2 separate regions of the Homo sapiens genome follow, and region 1 is linked to region 2. The links are contacts of gene promoters, found by promoter capture Hi-C in blood cells and fetal thymus (Javierre and others, 2016). All regions are on one chromosome and are shown on one strand. The core of a region is centred on a gene start or on the middle of the fragment in contact, and the rest is flanking DNA. Distances in the headings are between cores, read along the strand shown. Region 1 holds the start of OSM (oncostatin M). Region 2 holds the start of ZMAT5 (zinc finger matrin-type 5).

Region 1 (5,545 bases), core at 1,389-3,888, 500 kb after region 2:
GATGTTCGGCCTCGCCATCTGCAGCTTCTCCAAGTCCTCGATGTTCAGCCCAGACCTCTCCAAATCCTGGGCCTTGGGGAGGCGCTGCTCTAAGTCGGCCAGTCTGTGCAGGACGCAGCCCAGTGTGGCATTGAGGGTCTGCAGGAAGCCCCGCCTGCCCAGCCCCCTCAGGGTCTCCTCACTGGGGAAGGCCCCGGGGCGCTCCCTGCAGTGCTCTCTCAGTTTAGGAACATCCAGGCCTTGGATACGTATCTGGCGGGAACAGGAGGATCACAGGGTGAATGCTGAGGATCCGGACCACACTCACAGACAAGTAAGCCTTGAAATGCTAGACCTCATGCACCCCAATCCAATCTCCCACTGGACAGATCCGGAAACTGAGGCCCGAGAGGGAAGAGGACCCCAAGATCACTGCAGGCAAGGTCGGAGTGATGTTGGGGGGCTGGTGGGATGCCCGTGGGGAATGAAGAGCTTCAAGAGGGCTGGACTCTGTCTTGCTCACTGCTACGTCCCAGTGCCTAGACCAGAGCCTGGCAGGTGTGCAGGAAACACACTGAGTAAGCAGGTGAGCATGGTGATGGTGTCCGGAGTCCCGCCCCGGGACCACAGAGCTAGGAAAGCTGGAGGGCCAGCCTTAGCTCCTCAGGGTTAAGGCTGGAATAACATAGCGACTCAGTTCCCCGACCTGGCCATATGGAGTGGGGCTAGGCCTGTCCTCCCTGCTTCTCACTCCCTTCCTAACCCCATAGTTCTCTGAGACTCAGATGCCACAAGGGCCCAGGTGCTTACATAGGGGTCCAGGAGTCTGCTGGTGTCCTGCATGAGATCTGTCTGCTTCTGGAGCTGGCCAAGGAGCACGCGGTACTCTTTCGAGCAGCTGCCTATAGCCGCCATGCTCGCCATGCTTGGAAACAGGAGTGCAAGGACCAGACCTAAGGCAGAGAAGAGGGGTGTCACCTGACTTGGTGAGGAAAGCCACAGATGGGAGCCTCGGGGAGGGGGTTCAAGAGGGCCTTGAAAGGTGCCTCCTTCATCCCAGACTTTGTGTAGTGGAGGGCGGGGGCTGGGCACTGTGTGGCACGGTGTGTGCCCAGGTGTGCCCACCAAGGCCACCATCATCTCCCCAGTAAGTCACTGCCCAGGGCCTGACACAGCAAGCAGTGGGAGGGACTGAGACAGTGGCTGCGATTTACCAAGTAGGTCTTTGAGCAAAGGCTGCAGTGCCTGGCCGGATCCCAGTCCTGCCTACAGCACGGTTCTAACCTCGGGAGCTGACTCTCTGCAAGGTGGGACTGGCTCCCTGCAAGACCACTGGGCTAAAGACCGGCCACTGCCCTAGGACCTGCCTTGTCAGCTGCTCTGGCCATCCAGGTAGATGGGCCTGAGAGGGCTTCAGGGCAGGCAGCCCGGGAGCAGCTTGTGTCCTCAGCTCTGTCTAGAACCAGGAGAGGCTGCCTTTTCAACCAGAGGTGCAGCCTGGAACAGATGTGGAAGACCTTCCAGTCCATGTCCCCACTTTCCTGACAGGTAAACCAAGTCTCAGGAGAAGGTCCTACTCAGGTCACACAAGGCCAGGGCTCTCCCCTGACCTCTCTTGCCTCCCTCCTCTCTCCATAAGTGGCTCCTTCTGTCAGGCCCACCAGGGATGCTGTGAGCCTGTCAGAAGGTGTTGGGGGCGGGTACAGTTACCGCTCACCACCACCCCCAACGGGGCACCGGCAGCCACGTGGTCGGAAGGGGCCTATGGCGCAATGGCCCGGAAGGCAGTGACACCATCGTTCCCGTCCTAAGAACCATCCGGCCCTTTGGGGAAGACTGGCTGTTGGGGAGGGCCAAGGGGCCAGGCACCCAGGCTTAGCGACCCCACGGCACCCTCGCCGCCTCCCCAGGTATCTGCTGCCGGGCTCTGGCAGGGGCCTGTGCCTGTGGCAGCGCACGTGGGACTGGGGTTTCTGTGTGGCTGTGCATCTGGGTCTGTGTGCGGCGTGAGGGAGACCTGTTCCGTTCACCATGGGGACTCTGGTCTGCATGTGGGGGTTCCTGGGCTGGTGAGATCCAGGGCTGTAGATGACGTCATATGGCTGTGTGCGCATGTGGCCATGTGGGTGTGGCTGTGCATGCTGTGTGATTGTGTGGGCCCTGGGGCCCCCAGGCCTGGCTGACTTTCTATTCATCCCGGGCAAGCTGGAGGCCCCACAACCCCTCCACACCTCACACCACTTCCCTGCCCAGCTTCTGAGCCTCCCTCTCCTGCCCAGCCTCTTTGCCCATCCTATTCTCTCACCCCCTGGTTCCCAGAGTTGCCTCTACATCTTGACATCACCTCCCCCTGGAAGCCTTCCAGGGATGCCCCTTCTCTACCTGTGGAGATGCCAGGTTCTCAGTGGACCACTCTCTCTGCCTGACCTCCTGGCTCTCTCCCCTTCTCAGCATCCTTCTGCCTGGCGCCTGGCCTCCCCAGTTCCCGGAGGGCAGAGGGTGCCTCTGCTCCCCACCGGCACCCGTGGGCAGACCCAGCAGGCGGGTTCTGGCGGGGAGGAAGGAAGTACTTACTGAGCAGCGTCCTCTGTGTGAGCAGTACCCCCATGCTGGGTGCCCGTGCTCCGGCCCGCGCCCGCTGGGGGTGACACCTCTCGGCTGGGAGCCCTGCAGGCTGGCAGCCACTTTATGCCCGCTGGGGCGATTGGCCAACACCTCATGAGGTGGGTGGGGATGGGGAGGGGGGAGGGCAGGCCTTCTGGGAACATGACCCCAAAAACCAAAATTTCCACGGGCGGCCAATGGGCGCAGGGCGCGGTGTATGCCCGCTCCTCCTCCTGTTTTCTTCGAATTCGTTCTTCGAGGTCAGCCCTACGCCCAAGGATGATGTAAAACCGCAGCCTCAGCCTTCCTAGGGTGAGTGGGGAGGAAAAGGGTCCATGCCATCTTCAGGGAACTGGGCCAGGGATGGGCAGGAGGGACTTCGAGCTGGGCCTCTGGAGGCCCCAGGCCAGTCTTGGCCCAGGAGCCATTGGCCTCACAGGACACGGTGGTTGGGGGCTGAGGGGAGCGAGACATCTTCCTTCTTGAGTGCCCTTCCTGCCCTCTCGCCGGGGCTGTTGGGACATCTGTGAGCGGAAACCACCGGGCTCTGGGCACAGAGCCAGACGCAGGCTGGCAGCCCCGAGATTGTGGTTCAGGCCCCAGGACCAGCATCCCCCAGCCCGGCTCCCGACGGTCTCCTTTCCCCCATCGTGCACCCTCTGCCAGGCCCACTCCCCAAAGCCAGGCCTTGTCTTTGTAGGCAGGCTCCACTGGGGAGAACTGGACACTTGGAGCAAGAGAAACAGGAGGCCAGGGTTCAAGCCTGCTGAGGTGCTGTGTGACCTGAGGCAAGTCACTTAACCTCTCTGGGCCTCAGAGACCCACAACTATAAAATGAGGAGGAGAAAAGCCTTTCCCAGCCCACCTCACAGGGTTGCTGCCAGCATGGACATAAAAGGAAAAGACCTCTGAAGGAAAAAGCAAAGATGAAGGTCTGATTCCAAGTATTAGCTGTCGAGGGGGCGGGATGGGGGAAGGAGGAGATGGGGAAGCTGTGAGCTCAGAGGGGAAGCCGGGGAGGGGGAGTTGCCGCCTTGACAGTTGGGGACCAGGTTTCACTTTCTCTGAAAGATAGCGATCTTAGGTTGGTCCTCTGCGAAAGGGCCCTGGGAACAGCGCCTCCCTAGTCAAACTGCTACTTTACTGTGGGGTAAACTGAGGCCTGGGTGAAGGCAGACAGGGAGGCCAAGAGGCTGGCCCAGGCCTATAGACCCTGCCTGGTCAGCACATCTCCCAGGCCCAGAGGAGGGTCCTTGGCCTGCACCCTAAGAAGCCCGGGTGGGAGGAGGCCCTCAGGAGTCTGGGGAGTCAGGGTGGGACTCCTGGAGGCTGCCAGGGAGGCCTGAGCTGCTCCAGCTGGAGGGAGCATGGGGTCTGGGGCGCCTGAGCAAGGAGAGCTGGGGCAGCCAGAAAGGAGGAGGTTGGATGCACCCCTGTCCATGCCTGCTCCCGATGCCCACTGTGGCCACCAAGGCAGTTGCCACCCATTCTCCCCATCACTCATTTATTCATTCGACAAACCTTTATTTGGCTCCATGCTGCACCAGCCACTCCCAGGTCTGAGGATCACGTAGTAGGCAAAAATAGGCGACCCCACGCCCAGGAGGCTGCTCTTCAGCCCCTACCCACTCCCCGGCACCCAGGCTGGGACTCACCACACCAGGCCTCATACCTCCCCCTCACCACCCCCAGGGGCCAGTTCTGGATTCTCATCCTGAGAATGTCGCTTCCGCTGAAGTCCTCATCTCTGTGCCCACCCCCACAATGCTGTTTCCTGGGGCCATGCCAAGAGGGGATCCTTCTCCATTTCACATCCCTGATCTCGTCTTTTTTTCTCTTTTTTTAAATGCAGGATCTTGCTCTGTCACCCAGGCTGGAGTGCAGTGGCGCCATTGTAGGTAGCTCACTGTGGCCTCCAGCTCCTAAGCTGAAGCAAGGCTCCCCGCCTTAGTCTCCTGAGTAGCTGAGACCACAGGCATGCATCACTATGCCCAGCTAATTTTTTTATTTTTTGTAGAGACGGGGTGTCACTATGTTGCCCAGGCTGATAACAAACTCCTGGGTTCAAATGATCCTCCTGCCTTGGCCTCCCAAAGTGCTGGGATTGCAAGCGTGAGCCACAGCACCCAGCCACCGATCTCATCCTGCAACAGCCAGGGGAGAGAAGCCGCTGGGCAGTGACACCTCAGCTCACTTCAGTGAGGAGCTCGAAGCTCTGGGAAGTTTAGGGGCTGGCTCAAGGAAGGAGCGCCAGATCTGAGCAGAGGGGTCTAGGCCATTTTCAGCTGTGGCTGACCGACCACCACGCTTGGTGAGAAACAGCCACATGCCTTTATCTTATTCTATCTATCCTGTGGTCCAGGGAGGCCGTGCTGTCTCCTCATGGCAGAGAGAGGAGGTTGCTTTGTCTGAGGTCACCTATGAATAGTTAAGAGGAGAGGGGCATTTGGCCAGGCATGGTGGCTCACGCCTGTAATCCCAGCACTTTGGGAGGCCGAGGCAGGAGGGTCATTTGAGCCCAGGACTTCGAGACTGTGTCTTTACAGAAAATGTAAAAATAAATTATCCAGACATCGTAGTGCATACCTGAAGTCCCAGCTACTAGGGAGGTTGAGGCAGGAGGATCGCTCGAGCCCCGAAGGTTGAGGCTGCAGTGAGCCATTATCATGCCACAGGACTCCAGCCTGGGTGACAGAGCAAGGCCCTGTTTAAAAAAAACAAAAAACAAAAAACCCACCAAGAAAAGAAGGCATTCAAACGAGGCCCAAAGACCATACTCTTTGCACATAGTTAATGAGGGTGTCAGGCACAGGGCCCAGGGCTCAGAGTCACTGAAGGTAAGGAGAGCAGGTAGATTACATTGCTAGGACTCCCATAACAAAGTACCACAGACTGGGGGGCTTACGTAACAGAGATTTATTTTCTCACAGTTCTAGAGGCTGAAGTCTGAAATCAAGGGCTG
Region 2 (5,176 bases), core at 1,110-3,609:
GTACCACCACACCTGGCTAATTTTTTTGTATTTTTAGTAGAGACAGGGTTTCACCATGTTGGCCAGGCTAGTCTTGAACTCCTGACCTCAAGTGATCCACCCACCTTAGCCTCCCAAAGTGTGGGGATTACAGGTGTGAGCCACCGCGCCTGGCCCCTAGTTTGTTTTTCATGGAGACGGTCTCACTATACGGCCCAGGCTGGTCTTCAACTCTTGGCCTCAAGTGTTCCTCCTGCCTTGGATTCCCAAAACACTGGGATTATAGGTGTGAGGCACCATCCCCAGCCCAGTCCCTGGTTTTGAATGCCACCCCTATCCGGATGACTCTTCTCAGGCTCATACCTCTCCTCTAAACTACAGATCCATGTCCTCATTTGCCTCTAGACACCTCCACTTGATGTCTGTTGGCTAGCTCAAACTGATGTGGCCAAAACAGAACTTAAGATCATTCTGTTGATTTTAAATTGTTGAGGTCAAAACTTAGATGTCAGCTGGACGCGGTGGCTCACACCTGTAATCCCGGCACTTTGGGAGACCGTGGCAGGCGGATCACTTGAGGCCAGGAGTTCAAGACCAGCCTGGCCAACATGGTGAAACCTTGTCTCTACTAAAAATACAAAAATGAGCTGGGCGTGTTGGCATCCGCTTGTAATCCCAGCTATTCAGTAGGCTGAGGCATGAGAATTGCTTGAACATGGGTGGCAGAGGTTGCAGTGAGCCAAGATTGTGCCACTGCACTCCAGCCGCACAGAGTGAGACTCTGTCTCAAAAAAAAACAAAAAACAAAAAACAAAAAAAACTTAGATATCCTCCTCAATTCCTCTTTCCTGTGCACCCTACACACATCTGCTAGCTTGCTCTGTCTGCCCTCCCTCCCAAATTACATCCCAAATCTGATCACTGCCCTGCTCCACACCCTAACCTAAATTACCACCCATCAGGCCGGGCATGGTGGCTCACGCCTGTAATCCCAGCACTTTGGGAGGCCAAGATGGGAGGATCACCTGAAGTCAGGAGTTTGAGACTAGCCTGGCCAACATGGTGAAACCCTGTCTCTACTAAAAAAAAAAATTAGCCAGGCATGGTGGCAGGCGCCTGTAATCCCAGCCACTCGGGAGGCTGAAGCAGGAGAATCACTTGAACCCGGGAGGCGGAGGTTGCAGTAAGCCGAGATAGCACCACTACACTCCAGTCTGGACGACAGACCGAGACTCCATCTCAAATAAATAACCACCCATCTTCCCTCAAATGATCTACTACAATAACTTCCCCCTTGCGGTCCACTCTCCATAGACCAGCCAGGATGATGACATTAAAGTGCACATTAAATCTTGTCGCATTTCTCCTGAAAACCCTTCAATGGCCTCCTAGTGCAACTAGAAAAAGACAAGACTCCTTGGCCAGACGCGGTGGCTCACGCACCTTGGGGGGCGAGGCAGGAAGATTGCTTGAGCCCAGGAGTTGGAGACCAGCCTGGGCAACACAGTGAGACCCTGTCTCTAAAAACAAAAACCAAAGAAAACAAGACTCCGTAAGGTGGGTTCCAAGGCCAGACATGAGCTGACCGGAGTCAACCTCTTCACAGTCCACTCTACTTCTTTCCCTCAAACATCCCAGGACTGTAGCTGCCTCAAGGCCTTTGCACCAACGTTTTCCTGTTCAACTCTACTATTCATTCAGGTCTCTAGTCAAGTGTCACCCCCCAGAGCAGCTACCCAGGGTGCAATGTCACCACCACTGCCTCTCCAGTCAACCAAAGCACTATCTGTTTGCTGTACTGCATCTCCCCACCCGCCCACTCCGTAGATTGAGCGCTCTGTGAGAGCAAGGACTTTGTTCACTGCTGGGTCCCCAGAGCAGGGACCAGAACAGGCGCTGGGAAAACATCTGTTGAATGCCCCAGGTACTCCAAAGCCCTTGCTCTTTTCAATCCCAAGCAGGTTCCAAGTCTCCAGCCTTCCAAACCAGGGTTGCCCGGTGCGAAGCCCAGGGGTGAGAGGAACAGGAAGCAGGGCAGATCCGTCCCTGCCCTTAATCCAGGGTGAAGGGTTTAACCTCCAGGACAAGACTTTTGCCGCAGGCTCCAGCTCCTGGCCTAGACTTGGGGCTGGTGCAGGGGACAAGGCGAAGAGTTGAGCCAGGGTCTCGGGAACCCAGCTGCCCTCGCCCCTCTATCCACACCCTATCCCAAGAAATGGTGCGTCCCGCCGCAGGGCGTACGCACAGAGAAGGAAGTGTTCAAGTCTTCCAGTGCGGAGAAAAGAGACTAGGACTCGCCCCTCGACGTCTCGCGGAAGGTACCTGGCTCCCCGGTGGCTGCAGCTCCGGGCTCCTCCTCCTGCGTCCTCGCGTCGCGTACTGCTTGCTGGGATTCGTAGTCTCGCCTTGGCCATCAGTTCGCCCTTCCCAGAGAGCTTTGGGAATCTAAGCCGGGACTGGGCGGAGGGCGGGGAGAAGGTGATGGCGCGCGAGGGCTTCTGGGAGTTGTAGTTTGACATATTCTAACAGCCAGGAATTCTGGAGAAGAAAAATTGGGTAATAAATCTTATCAGATTATCTGGGCTGTCCTGATATGAACCTTTTGAGTTTTTTTCCTCATTCCCAGGATAGGAATACCTCTGTGGTTCAAAACACGAAGGCTGAGATTCAGAGGAACTACAAATCCCATAAAGTGTTGCACGTCTAGGGCCTTTGGGGAACGAGGTCGGCCCCAGCGCAGGCGCGGTGGCGCGAGTTGGACTGTGAAGAAACATGGCGGCCGCGACGTTGACTTCGAAATTGTACTCCCTGCTGTTCCGCAGGACCTCCACCTTCGCCCTCACCATCATCGTGGGCGTCATGTTCTTCGAGCGCGCCTTCGATCAAGGCGCGGACGCTATCTACGACCACATCAACGAGGGGGTGAGGGCCTGTGCCATCCCTGACCTTGGACCCGCCTGAGGGGTGACAGTGGAGTAGAGGTGGGATGGGACTCAGTATACTTTTACCAGGAAGGGGGTAAGGGGTAAACCGTCGGCGTCTTCTGTCTCGAGTCCGCCGTCTGTCCCCTTGGCTTGATGTGAATTCTAAAACGTTAAGCGAGGTTAATATATTTCATTTTGCAGGGGTTGTAAGTATTGCTGTGTGCCACCCTACATACCCACTTGCCCATTATCAGAAGCAAAAACTAAAGGCTAGTGAGAGCAAAGGACTTACTAGCTGCACAGGAAGCCAGGGGCAAGTCAGGGCCAGAAACGGGACCCCTGTCTCTCAGAGTTTCAAGGGCAGATTTGAGCAGGCGACGGTCGTGAAAAGGACGTTAGACACCTTAGACGCCGTGGCTGAAGTTTCAGACGGCGCTTCTGGTCCCCAAGGCTTCCCACGTAGACAGTTGGTATTAATGGTTGAGAGTGGGGGCTATGAAATCAGAAAGCCTTGGATAGGAACACTGGTCCTTGTCACTTAACTGTGGCATTAAGTTGAGCAAGTTTCTTCTCTGAACTCCGTTTTAACTGTGAGATGGAGATATTAATAGTAACCTGAGCACGATTGTGAGGATTACATGAGATGCAGGCAGGGTGCCACATGCCTGGTAGGTGGTACCACTGAAAAATAATCATTGCTTACATTCCTCAGGAGAAAGTGGAAGCATGAGGTAGGAATCGCAACACATTTTTGACTTTTATGTATCATGCACTGTGCTAGGTGCAGTGCATGCTTTATATCGCTAAATTATGACTGTGCTGGAGTAGGCCTTATACATATAGCCCTGTTCCACCACTCACTTGTGTTTTTAATTTGAGACTGTCTGACTCTGCAGCCCGGGAAGGCACTGTCCACTAGTGCTATGCTGCCTGTGACCAGTGCAACTTCCTGCCCCATATGAAAGCATTGCTACTGTCCCATCTCTTGCAAGTGGTTCTGTTAACCACTCCCATTGATCTGGAGAGACATCCAAGTATGTTGTTATAACTCACCCATTTTCCTTGTGCTTTTTTTTGTTTTGTTTTGTTTTTTTGAGACAGGATCTCACTCTGTCGCCCAGGTTGGAGTGCAGTGGCATGATCACAGCTCACTGCAGCCTTGACCTCCTGGGTTCAAGTGATCTTCCCACCTCAGCCTCCTGAGTAGCTGGGACCACAGGCATGCGCCACCACGCCCAGCTAATTTTTGTATTTTTTGTAGAGATGGGGTTTCACCATGTTGCCCAGGCTGGTCTTGAATTCCTGAGCTCAGGCAGTCCTCCTGCCTTAGCCTTCTAAAGTACTGGGATTACAGGCGTGAGCCACTGTGCTCAACCTCTTGTGCTTCTGGGAATGAGAATTTCAGCCAATTTAGGTCCCAGGAAATGTCTTAAATGGCTCATGGTGAAATATTTTGGGACTACGCACTTATAATCTCTTCAGTAATACCTGGGAGTTGAAGAACTGAGACATCTTCCAGGCTGTTTTCCTTAATAATTGTGTGTTTTGGGGCACTTCCCTCAATCTCAAACTGAATTTCCTGTGAAATTAAGATCACCCCTTTCCACTTACTTCACCTGGTGATTGAAAGCATCATAGTATTTTATAAATGCCAAGAATTATGCATGAAGGCTCGGCGCGGTGGCTCACACCTGTCATCCCAGCGCTTTGGGAGGCCAAGGCAGGCAGATCACTTGAGGTCAGGAGTTTGAGACCAGCTTGGCCAACATGGCGAAACCCCATCTCTACTAAAAATACAAAAATTAGCCGGGTAGCGCATACCTGTATTCCCAGCTGCTCTTGAAGCTGAGGCAGGAGAATCGCTCGAACCCAAGAGGCTGAGGTTGCAGTGAGCCGAGATTGCGCCACTACACTCCAGCCTGGGCGATAGAGCGAGTCTCCGTCTCAAAAAAAAAATGTGCATCAAGCATAGGATTGCTTCGAGTTTGCCCACCACAAGTGTATCTTTTTAATCAGGACATGGCATGTGTTTCCCCCAAGCTCATTTTAGAGACCAGGGCAGTGGGAGTAGTTGTAAAATGTGAGAGGCAAAGGTCAAAGTTTGTGGCTCTTGTCTTTAAAATGCAGAAGCTGTGGAAACACATCAAGCACAAGTATGAGAACAAGTAGTTCCTTGGAGGCCCCCATCCAGGCCAGAAGGACCAGGTCCACCCAGCAGCTGTTTGCCCAGAGCTGGAGCCTCAGCTTGAAGATGATGCTCAAGGTACTCTTCA

The links. Contacts are between HindIII fragments. The CHiCAGO score rates a contact against its expected background, and 5 or more counts as called.
Region 1: a contact is called between the fragment with the promoter of OSM here and the fragment with the promoter of ZMAT5 in region 2, in 1 of 17 cell types (neutrophils). The highest score is 5.3, in neutrophils.

The regions. Positions count from the first base shown.
Region 1 is chr22:30,264,213-30,269,757 of GRCh38, forward strand. It overlaps OSM (oncostatin M), which reads right to left and starts at 2,639. Exons shown (of 3, transcript NM_020530.6): 1 at 2,554-2,639; 2 at 790-932; 3 at 1-252. The coding sequence starts at 2,587. RefSeq lists enhancers at 1-417, 1,803-1,882, 1,943-2,042. The HindIII fragment of the contact is 8,742 bases long and covers 1-5,545 here.
Region 2 is chr22:29,764,648-29,769,823 of GRCh38, forward strand. ZMAT5 (zinc finger matrin-type 5) reads right to left here and starts at 2,360. Exons shown (of 6, transcript NM_001003692.2): 1 at 2,225-2,360. UQCR10 (ubiquinol-cytochrome c reductase, complex III subunit X) reads left to right here and starts at 2,722. Exons shown (of 2, transcript NM_013387.4): 1 at 2,722-2,901; 2 at 5,031-5,176. The coding sequence starts at 2,752. The coding sequence ends at 5,072. RefSeq lists enhancers at 1,595-2,244, 2,214-2,443, 2,245-2,894, 2,804-2,853. The HindIII fragment of the contact is 8,045 bases long and covers 1-5,176 here.